2 separate regions of the Homo sapiens genome follow, and region 1 is linked to region 2. Evidence: promoter capture Hi-C in human tissues and cell types (Jung and others, 2019). All regions are on one chromosome and are shown on one strand. Each heading gives the region's core, a stretch centred on a gene start or on the middle of the fragment in contact. The rest is flanking DNA. Distances are from core to core; before and after follow the strand shown. Region 1 holds the start of CD200 (CD200 molecule). Region 2 holds the start of SLC9C1 (solute carrier family 9 member C1).

Region 1 (4,241 bases), core at 1,114-3,613, 39 kb before region 2:
AGTTGCTTTTTCCTTACATCTCTAAGGCTACAGAGAATTCAAGATTATATCATCTGAAGGTGCCATTAGGACAAATTATTCTTTGCAGATATATTTTATTATTCGATACCCAAGCATACCATAAGCATGCTATCCCTTCCTTGTGACTTCTCTTCCTGTCTTCATAGGTCTAAGACTAATAACATAGTCACTGCTCTTTGAGAAACCCAAGATGGTTCAGCTGCCTGAATACATACAGCCTACAAAGATCTGCTCACCCTGCCCATCCACTGCTGGGTATTATACTCACAAAGGCTTTGGTTTTGAAGTGAAAAAAAATATATAACTCGATAATTTTCTCAGTATTACTGAGACTGTTCCATCCTATCTAATTATCTAGGAAAGTCAGAAAAAATCAGGCCAAATATTTCCTCAGGCTCCATTGCCAGTGCCCACCCAACACATTTTGTTTTATTTTCAGCTAAGGCAATTGTGGAGACAGATACTGGCATTCCAATTCTATGTGATATTTTTTAAACCATTAGGCTTCTCTGACGTGGAAATCCAGGCTCTACCAGAGGCCATGATGAAGAATGCAGAATGGACAAGCTCTCATAGAGAAAATCTGTGTTTTAGGACAAGAGAGAAAGCAGATACATACCAAACCATATATTGTGGACTGGGAGCCAGCAATGTTAAGAAACAAAACACAGTGATTGAGGCAAAGGAAATCAGAAGGAAAGCCTTACTCTTAAATAGATACGTATTTTTATTTTACAGGTTTTTTTTTTCCTCGAGTCTGTGCAGAATAACTGAAAATACGACCAATCTGAAAACAACAGTATTTATATGTTTACAGGGAGGTGACCGGGGCTAAAACAAATACTAGATTTGTGAGCAAAAGAAATCATTTTACCTCTCTGAGACTCCGGAAAAGTAATAGTACCAATCTAATGGTTAAAAAGACTAAATGAAGTAGTATATAAAGCTCCTAGAATACTGCCAGTAGAAATAAGCACTAAATAAATGTTGCTCTTATCTCACATAGTTATTATGAGAATTAGGCAATTAAAGCACTTAGTATAGAGCCTAGGTTATAGTAAATGCCAATACGTGTTAGGTAGCTAAAAAAATTAATCGATCAAATCATATAGGGGGAACTACAGTCCTGAAAACAAAGAAGCCCACTTATAACCCTTGCCATGCAGTCCAGGGTTCACAAAAACCTGGGTCTTACCAGACAGCTGCCCACCTGGTAGCTATATTGCCCCTATTCATGCCTCTTCCTCAGCAAGTTTCTATGTCCAAATCCACATTACCCCACATGTAGTCACAAGGACTTGGAAATATCAGCCTTTCCGCCTGTTTATGTGTAAAACGAGGTAATAATTCATTTTTAGAAGGATAGTTACAAAGAAGATTAACAGCATCTAGCTTGCAGTAGACCGTAGCTCACAGACCACCATTCTCCTTTGTTAAGAAAGACAGTGAAATCATTGGCTATGTGGTCTTGCCAACAAACCATACATGAAAAAATTATCTTGAGGCATTCACTGTATTTGGATTCTTATACCAATACCATTGTATTTGGATTTCATATACCAATGGGATATATGAAAACCTTCTCCGTTTTTTGTCTTGTAAGCTGGTTCCGAATAAACAAAATGTCTGTTTCTCTAGATACCCGGGGTTAACCCTTCAAAGCATTATGATCACAGAGCATTTCAGCTCTCTCAAGTGTAGCTTCAGCTTTAACTGATCCTTCATGGCTTCCCCCAGGCAAGGGCTAGGAGGGAGAAAGGGGCTGCATAACAAAGAGGAGACGCAGGAGCTCTCCCGGAGAAAGCGAGCCTGGAAATCTGTATCTCCGCCGCAGCTTTTGGTGCCAATATGGAACCAATACAGCATTTCTCTTTCCCTTTTGGGGGCAGTTTAAAATAGGCTGTGCCTCCCCAGTTTTGGGAGCTGGAGCCAGTGAGCCGAGCCGAGCCTGCCCGGAGGATGCGCCAGCTTCGTCAGCGCGGATCAAGAGCCCCCGGAGCCCCGGCCTGGTGCATCTTTTTTTCAGGCAATTGGAATGGAGAATCTGGACGCCAGCAGCTGCCTGTAAACCACCCTTTGGAAGGCAAAATCCGTTTCTCAGCAAGAGAAAGCGCTTAGAGAAAAGCGCTGCCATCAACACCGCTGATCTAGTCCCCGGACCAGATTGTGGCAAGAGCCGAAGCTCCGCGCCTTCCACTCGCCGCCCGCCCCAGGGCCACCGGCTCAACATCGCCTGCCCTGCGCCCTCCTTCCCAAGCCCCGGCCCCGCTCACCAGCCTCTCCATCCTTGCTCCTGGAGGCGCGCGCGAGGTGGCTGACTGCGGATGTGCGCCTGGAGCTCTGCTAGGCAGGCGGGAGGAGCGTCACCTGTGCCCCTGCCGCACCTCCCGCCTCTTCCTCCTCGCTAGCCCCCTTCTCCCACTCCGTTTTCCCCACGCCCTCACAGGAGCGGAGGCTGTCTGTGTGGGGGGAATTAAATGATGTTTATATTCAGCTTTGTCTATTTTCAGACATTTTTCCCTTTTCAAAGGTGACCGCTGGGGAAACTGACAAAGTGTTTGGAAAAAAAAAATCATTTTTTTTTTTCCATTTTCCTGCTACCTGGACTGAGAAAGGAAATGAGGTGGGAGGTTGTGGAGATCAGTTGTTGACCTGTTAGCTCTTGATGTAGTGGCAAAGGATTCAAGCTGAATTTAACCAATGGACTTTTTTTTTTTTTTAAAGAAAAAACTTACATTTATTATTTTTAAATCCAGATTCAAATTATATATTTAAGCAATTCCGTAATGATTTCACCTTTCATGATGTGATCAATTCTTTGGTGAAGAGTTTCCTTCCACTTGCATTAATGATGAGGATTCTTTTTTCCCTTCTCCTTCTCCTTCTTCTCCTTCTTCTTCTTCTTGAGACGGAGTCTCGCTCTGTGGTCCAGGCTGGAGTGCAGTGGCGCTATCTTGGCTCACTACAAGCTCCGCCTCCCGGGTTCCCGCCATTCTCCTGCCTCAGCCTCCCGAGTAGCTGGGACTACAGACGCCCGCCACCATGCCCGGCTAATTTTTTGTATTTTTAGTAGAGACGGGGTTTCACCATGTTAGCCAGGATGGTCTCGGTCTCTTGACCTCGTGATCCGCCCGCCTCGGCCTCCCAAAATGCTGGGATTACAGGCGTGAGCCACTGCGCCCGGCCCTCCTCCTCCTCTTCCTCCTTCTCCGTCTCCTTCTCCTTCTCCTTCTCCTCCTTCTCCTTCTCCTCCTCCCCCTCCCCCTCCTCCTCCTCCTTCGTCTTCTTCTTCTTGTTCCAGAGTTCTTGGCTCTTAAAAAAAAAAAAAAAAGGACAAAGAAATCATCAAGTGTTCACCTCCTGAAGGCTTTTGTGTTTTACTACTACCACCCTCTCATAAGGAGCTGGGACAAAGCTTTGGGGTTTTGTTTTTGCTTCTTTTTACAGACAAAGTCTCGCTCTGTTGTCCAAGCTGGAATGCAGTGGTGCGATCATAACTCACTCCTGGGCTCAAGGGATCCTCTCACCTCAGCCTCTAGAGTAGCTAGAATGATAGTTGTGCAGCCACTATGTCCAGCTTTTTTTTTTTTTCCAGACACGGGGTCTTGTGTTGCCCAGGCTGGCCTGAAATTCCTAGCCTCAAATGCTCCTTCTACCTTTGCCTCCCAAAGCAGTGGGATTACAGGCATGAACCACTGCACCTGACCTATTCTCCCACTTCTTTTTTTGGGGGGGGGGCGGTGGGAGACGGGGGCGGAGTCTCGCTCTGTCGTCCAGGCTGGAGTGCAGTGGCGCGATCTCGGCTCACTGCAAGCTCTGCCTCCTGGGTTCACGCCATTCTCCTGCCTCAGCCTCCGAAGTAGCTGGGACTACAGGCGCCCGCCACCACGCCCGGCTAATTTTTTTTGTATTTTTAGTAGAGACGGGGTTTCACCGTTTAGCCAGGATGGTCTCGATCTCCTGACTTCATGATTCGCCCGTCTCAGCCTCCCAAAGTTGTGGGAATTACAGGCGTGAGCCACCGCGCCCGGCCCCTATTCTCCTACTTCTAACACCATAGACTAGGCTCACCTGATTTTGAATTTTATATGAATGGCATCGTAGCATATGTCTTCACTTGTTTCTGGGTTTTTTACTCAACAGTAGATTTTAAAAATCCATCCATGTTATTGCCTGTAGTGTGGCTTATTCATTCTCACTGATGTATAGTATCCTATTCT
Region 2 (4,680 bases), core at 1,637-4,136:
AAATTCCAGCCAGGCCAATTAGGCAAGATTTTTTAAAAGGTGGGGGATGGAGTGGGATACTGTTTGGAAAACAAGAAGTGAAGTATATCTATTTGCAGATGACATGACCCTATATACGGAAACCCCTAAAAATCTACAAAAGGCCTATTAGAGCTAATATTAGGTTGGTGCAAGAGTAGTTGCGGTTTTTGCCATTACTTTGGCACTGACCTATAAATGAGTTCACCAAGGTTATAGAATACTAGATTAATACAGAAAAATCAGTTGTACTTCTATACACTAGCAATGAATAATGCAAAAATAAAATTAAAAACCCAGTTCCATTGTGATTGCAAGGAAAAAAAAAAAGAATTAAATGACCAGGAATAAGTTTAACAAGAGAGGTGCAAGGCAGTCCATTTGCTGATTTTTTTTTTTTTTTAGAATTTGTTGTTGTATTTTTTGCATCTGTAATTTTCATTTGGCTTCCCTTTATATCACCTATTTTTTTCCCTGGAACTTTACTTCTTTGCCCAGACTTTCTATTTTTTCATCTATTTCAATACTGTTCATAATTATTAGCATTTGCTGAAATATTTTTATGATGGCTATGTTAAAATCCTTTTTAGATAATTCTAACATTTTTGTAATCTTAGGGTTGGTGTCTTTTATTGTCCATTCTCATTCAAGTTGGGATCACCTTGGTTCTTGGTATGATGAGCGATTTTCAATTTCTATTTGGACATTGCAGATATTATAAGATACTGGATCTTATTTAAATCCTGGGTTTTACCAGGCATCCTCTGACACTGTTCTGGCAGGAGAAGTGGGGTCACCTCTTGTAGGCAAGTTGGAATAAAAGCTCAAGTTCTCTACTCAGTCTTCATTGACACACAGCCGAAGAAGGGGTGTCTTCTTACTGCTTAGGTAGGAGTGGGGCTTCAGGCTCTTCACTAGGTCTCTGATGATAGCCCCCTGGATGGGAAAGAGAAGGGTGTCCTATTACTGCTCCCTGCATGGTCTCCACTGATACCATGGGAGGTGGCTTATGCCTATAATCCCAGGACTTTGGGAGGCTGAGGAGAGGATGGCTTGAGGCCAGGAGTTTGAGACCAGCCTGGGCAACATAGCAAGACTCCATCTCTACAAAAAGAATTAAAAAATTAGGTGTGGTGACATGCCTGTAGAAGTATTCACCCAAATACTTGGGAGGTTCAGGTGTGAGGACTGCTTGAGCCCAGAAGTTTAAGGTAGCAGGGAGCTATGGTCATACCACTACCTTCCAGCCTGAGTGACAGAGTGAGATCCCATCTCTTGGAAAAAAAAGGTGAATGATTCTGGATTACAAGGATGTCCAGTGTGTGGTCATTAGAGTATATTGCTAAAGAGAAATATTAGACAACATTTACATTTCCTGTTTTATTTATATATATATATATATATATATATATATAAACTTAGCAAGACATATGTATATAAACAAATACATAATGTGGCAAATATTAGCTTTGCAACTTAATTAATTTTTAAATATATATCCACACATGAACCACAACCCACACACAGATATGTGGCATGTATTTCCAACAATGAGAATCCTTTTTTTTTTTTTTTGAAACGGTGTCTCACCCTGTCTCCCAGGCTGGAGTGCAGTGGCGCAATCTCGGCTCACTGCAACCTCCATCTCCCGGGTTCAAGTGATTCTCCTTTCTTAGCCTCCCGGAGCTAGGACTATAGGCGCCTGCCACCATGCCCGGCTAATTTTTGTATTTTTAGTAGAGACGGGGTTTCACCTTGTTGGTCAGGCTGGTCTCGAACTCCTGACCTCAGGTGATCCACCTGCCTCGGCCTCCCAAAGTGCTGGGATTACAGGCATGAGCCACTGCACCTGGCCGAGAATAGATTTTTTAAAGACCCAAGAAAAGGGGCAGCCCAGCAAGACAGAAAATTTCACCAGTAACTGCTCTACTTTAACCAAACACCACAGAAAAGTGTTCACCCACTCCCTGTACCCACATACCAGCAAAGACTGAGTAGGAAGCTTAAACTTCACCCATACCATACAAGATGCCAGAACCCTGCCTGTTTCCCCACCCCAACCAGAGCAGTATCAGAAAAGGCCTTGTGGGAGCTGGAACTTCCATAACAACCAGGCCATAAAGATGCACCCCATGCCTCAGTTGGAGACCATGTAGGGAGCCTGGACTTCTGCTCCAACCCAGCCAAACAAGTTGCCTCCTGCCTTCTTCATCAGGGTAGTATCAGAGGAGGCCAAATGAAGAGTTGGGAATTTTACCACCATTCACTTATAAACGTGTGGGTCGGGAGAAAGAGATGAAACACAGAGAACAAAACATTAAATACAATTTTAAATAACTTTAAGATATTTTATGAGAGTAGGAATGTGAAAAGTTGGCTCTATAGTAATAACTAAGTAATTTCAATTAAAATATTTTTTACATATTATGTTTAGAAAAAACAAATGAGTATATCATTATTCCTGAAAATTTCCTCACATATAACCCAGAGTGAAAGTTCACCTTGTCATCTTGATTTCATTCTCTTACATGCCCACAATATCCATTCACTTTTTCCCTAACCCAGCAACCTGCGTCCTCATATCTCTACCACACTATCTTATCCAGGAAACTTCCTTTTACTAGAATTCTGGGAAAGCAGTGTCCAACAGCTCTTTGTCAGAAATCCACTGTCCCAAAGTCTTAAATTAACACAATGGCGCAATTTCTGTAGGTTCATTTTCACCCCTTATTTGTTTATTTTTAAAAAATAAAACAAAGCCTTAAGCCGTCAAATGCCTGAGATATACAGGAGCAATGACGTTGCATTTCATCAGCCAATCAAGTAAGAGATGATGGGCCTGAAGCTAACCGGTGCAGACTAGGGGCGAGTTTGGAGCAAGTAACTGTCAGTGAGGTTGCAGTTGGTCTGGGCTGTTTGGCTGTGAGCGAAATAGCTGCCCCCCACTTCTCACTTGCACACCACGGGATACTCCTCCTGAGGCTCCGGATGGTGAGCTCTCCAGTCTCTAGTTTCCTTTTCTGGAAGTTGACCTTTCCTACTGGTACTTTCTCTCTCAGTCTCGCCTCCTAGATGAACAAAGGCTCCCACTGTTTTCCTGCTAGAGATTCAGCCACTCCCTCTTGGCGCTTCTGCCTTTCTTGTGGCAGACCATGGAACACTTTCCCAAAGATCAGCTAGCTTCTCGGTTTGAACTTCTACCCCTTAGCTGCTTCCCCTCCTCCATTATGCTTTTTACATCAACTCTTTGTGAACTATCCAGTGGCATGTGTTCCCTTTGCGTTACTGAAACTGAAAAGTCCAGCCCTAGGGGAAAGCTCACTGGTTCAGGGAATCGCCTCAGGTGTGTGGAGCTGATCTTGAGCTGGAGGAAGGGCTCATTCTGAGTGGAGGGGCATTAGGAGGGCAATAGCCCACCCACCTTCAGAGTCAGTAAGATGTCTGCGTTGTGTGGTAGGAGAGTTTACTAAGGAGACAATCCAGCCTCTGGTATCAATATAAAATAAACCATTAAGCATGAGCTTTGTAGCTGTGAAGATTACTGAGATCCCACAGTGCCCTCTTCAGGATGCTTTCTTCACCTAATTCTTGCAAAACGTTCCAATCTGAAGGAAGAAGACTGTTTCCATGTTCAGTAACATGGTAAATTAGTGTGACTTACGGTTCATGAGACAAAATTTCTCAATGCTGGCTGACTGACAAGGACAAATTCATGTCATTTTTGAGAGGGCAGTCATTAATTTCCTCCACACACAAAGAGAATTGAGATATTAGCTAACATGAGAGATATATATATATATATATATTTGAAATAGAGTCTCACTCTGTCACCCAAGCTGGAGTGCAGTGGCACAATCTAGGCTCACTGCAATCTCTGCCTCTTCAATTGATTCTCCTGTCTCAGCCTCCCAAGTAGTTGGGATTACAGGCATGTGCCACCACACCTGGCTAATTTTTTTTTTTTTTTTTTTGTATTTTTAGTAGAGACAGTTTCACTATTTTGGCCAGGCTAGTCTCGAACTCCTGATCTCAAGTGATCCACCCGCCTAGGCCTCCCAAAGTGCTGGGATTACAGGCGTGAGCCACTGTGCTCAGTCAACTAACTTATTGTTAAATTAATGCAGAGGACCTATGTGATAAACCAATATTTTTTTCTTTAATGGGATTTGGACTCACAGACTTTTACAAAGCTGTCAAAAGTCAGCTTAAGATGAAGAGTTCTAATTATATTGAAAACCTGTGGCCGGGCGTGGTGGCTCACGCCTGTAATCCCAGCACTTTGGGAGGCCGAGGCGGGCAGATCACAAGGTCAGGAGATCGAGACCATCCTGGCTAACACAGTGAAACCCCGTCTCTACTAAAAATACAAAAAATTAGCCGGGCGTGGTGGCTGGCGCCTGTAGTCCCAGCTACTCGGGAGGCTGAGGCAGGAGAATGGTGTGAACCCGGGAGGCAGAGCTTGCAGTGAGCCGAGATCGCACCACTGCACTCCAGCCTGGGCGACAGATCATGACTCCGTCTCAAAAAACAAAAAAAAGAAAACCTGTTTATTCTCATAGCTATTTCCTTACCCATACATTTAACATATTAAGCTACAGTAATGTTAGTATTTTTAAAACTATTTTAAGATGACATCTATTCTCAAATAGAGATTTCTTATGA

Evidence for each region. The method cuts DNA at HindIII sites, captures the fragments that hold promoters and counts their contacts. A contact is called where the count stands out against the background at its distance.
Region 1: the fragment with the promoter of CD200 here is called in contact with the fragment with the promoter of SLC9C1 in region 2 in 1 of the 25 tissues and cell types used here (neural progenitor cells).

Annotation. Positions count from the first base shown.
Region 1 is chr3:112,331,278-112,335,518 of GRCh38, reverse strand. It overlaps CD200 (CD200 molecule), which reads right to left and starts at 2,363. Exons shown (of 6, transcript NM_005944.7): 1 at 2,295-2,363. The coding sequence starts at 2,306. LOC105374042 (a long non-coding RNA gene) reads right to left here. Exons shown (of 5, transcript NR_147411.1): 5 at 2,765-3,333. RefSeq lists enhancers at 1-285, 782-1,738, 1,739-2,696. The HindIII fragment of the contact is 7,249 bases long and covers 1-4,241 here.
Region 2 is chr3:112,292,422-112,297,101 of GRCh38, reverse strand. It overlaps SLC9C1 (solute carrier family 9 member C1), which reads left to right and starts at 2,886. Exons shown (of 29, transcript NM_183061.3): 1 at 2,886-3,009. The HindIII fragment of the contact is 5,534 bases long and covers 813-4,680 here.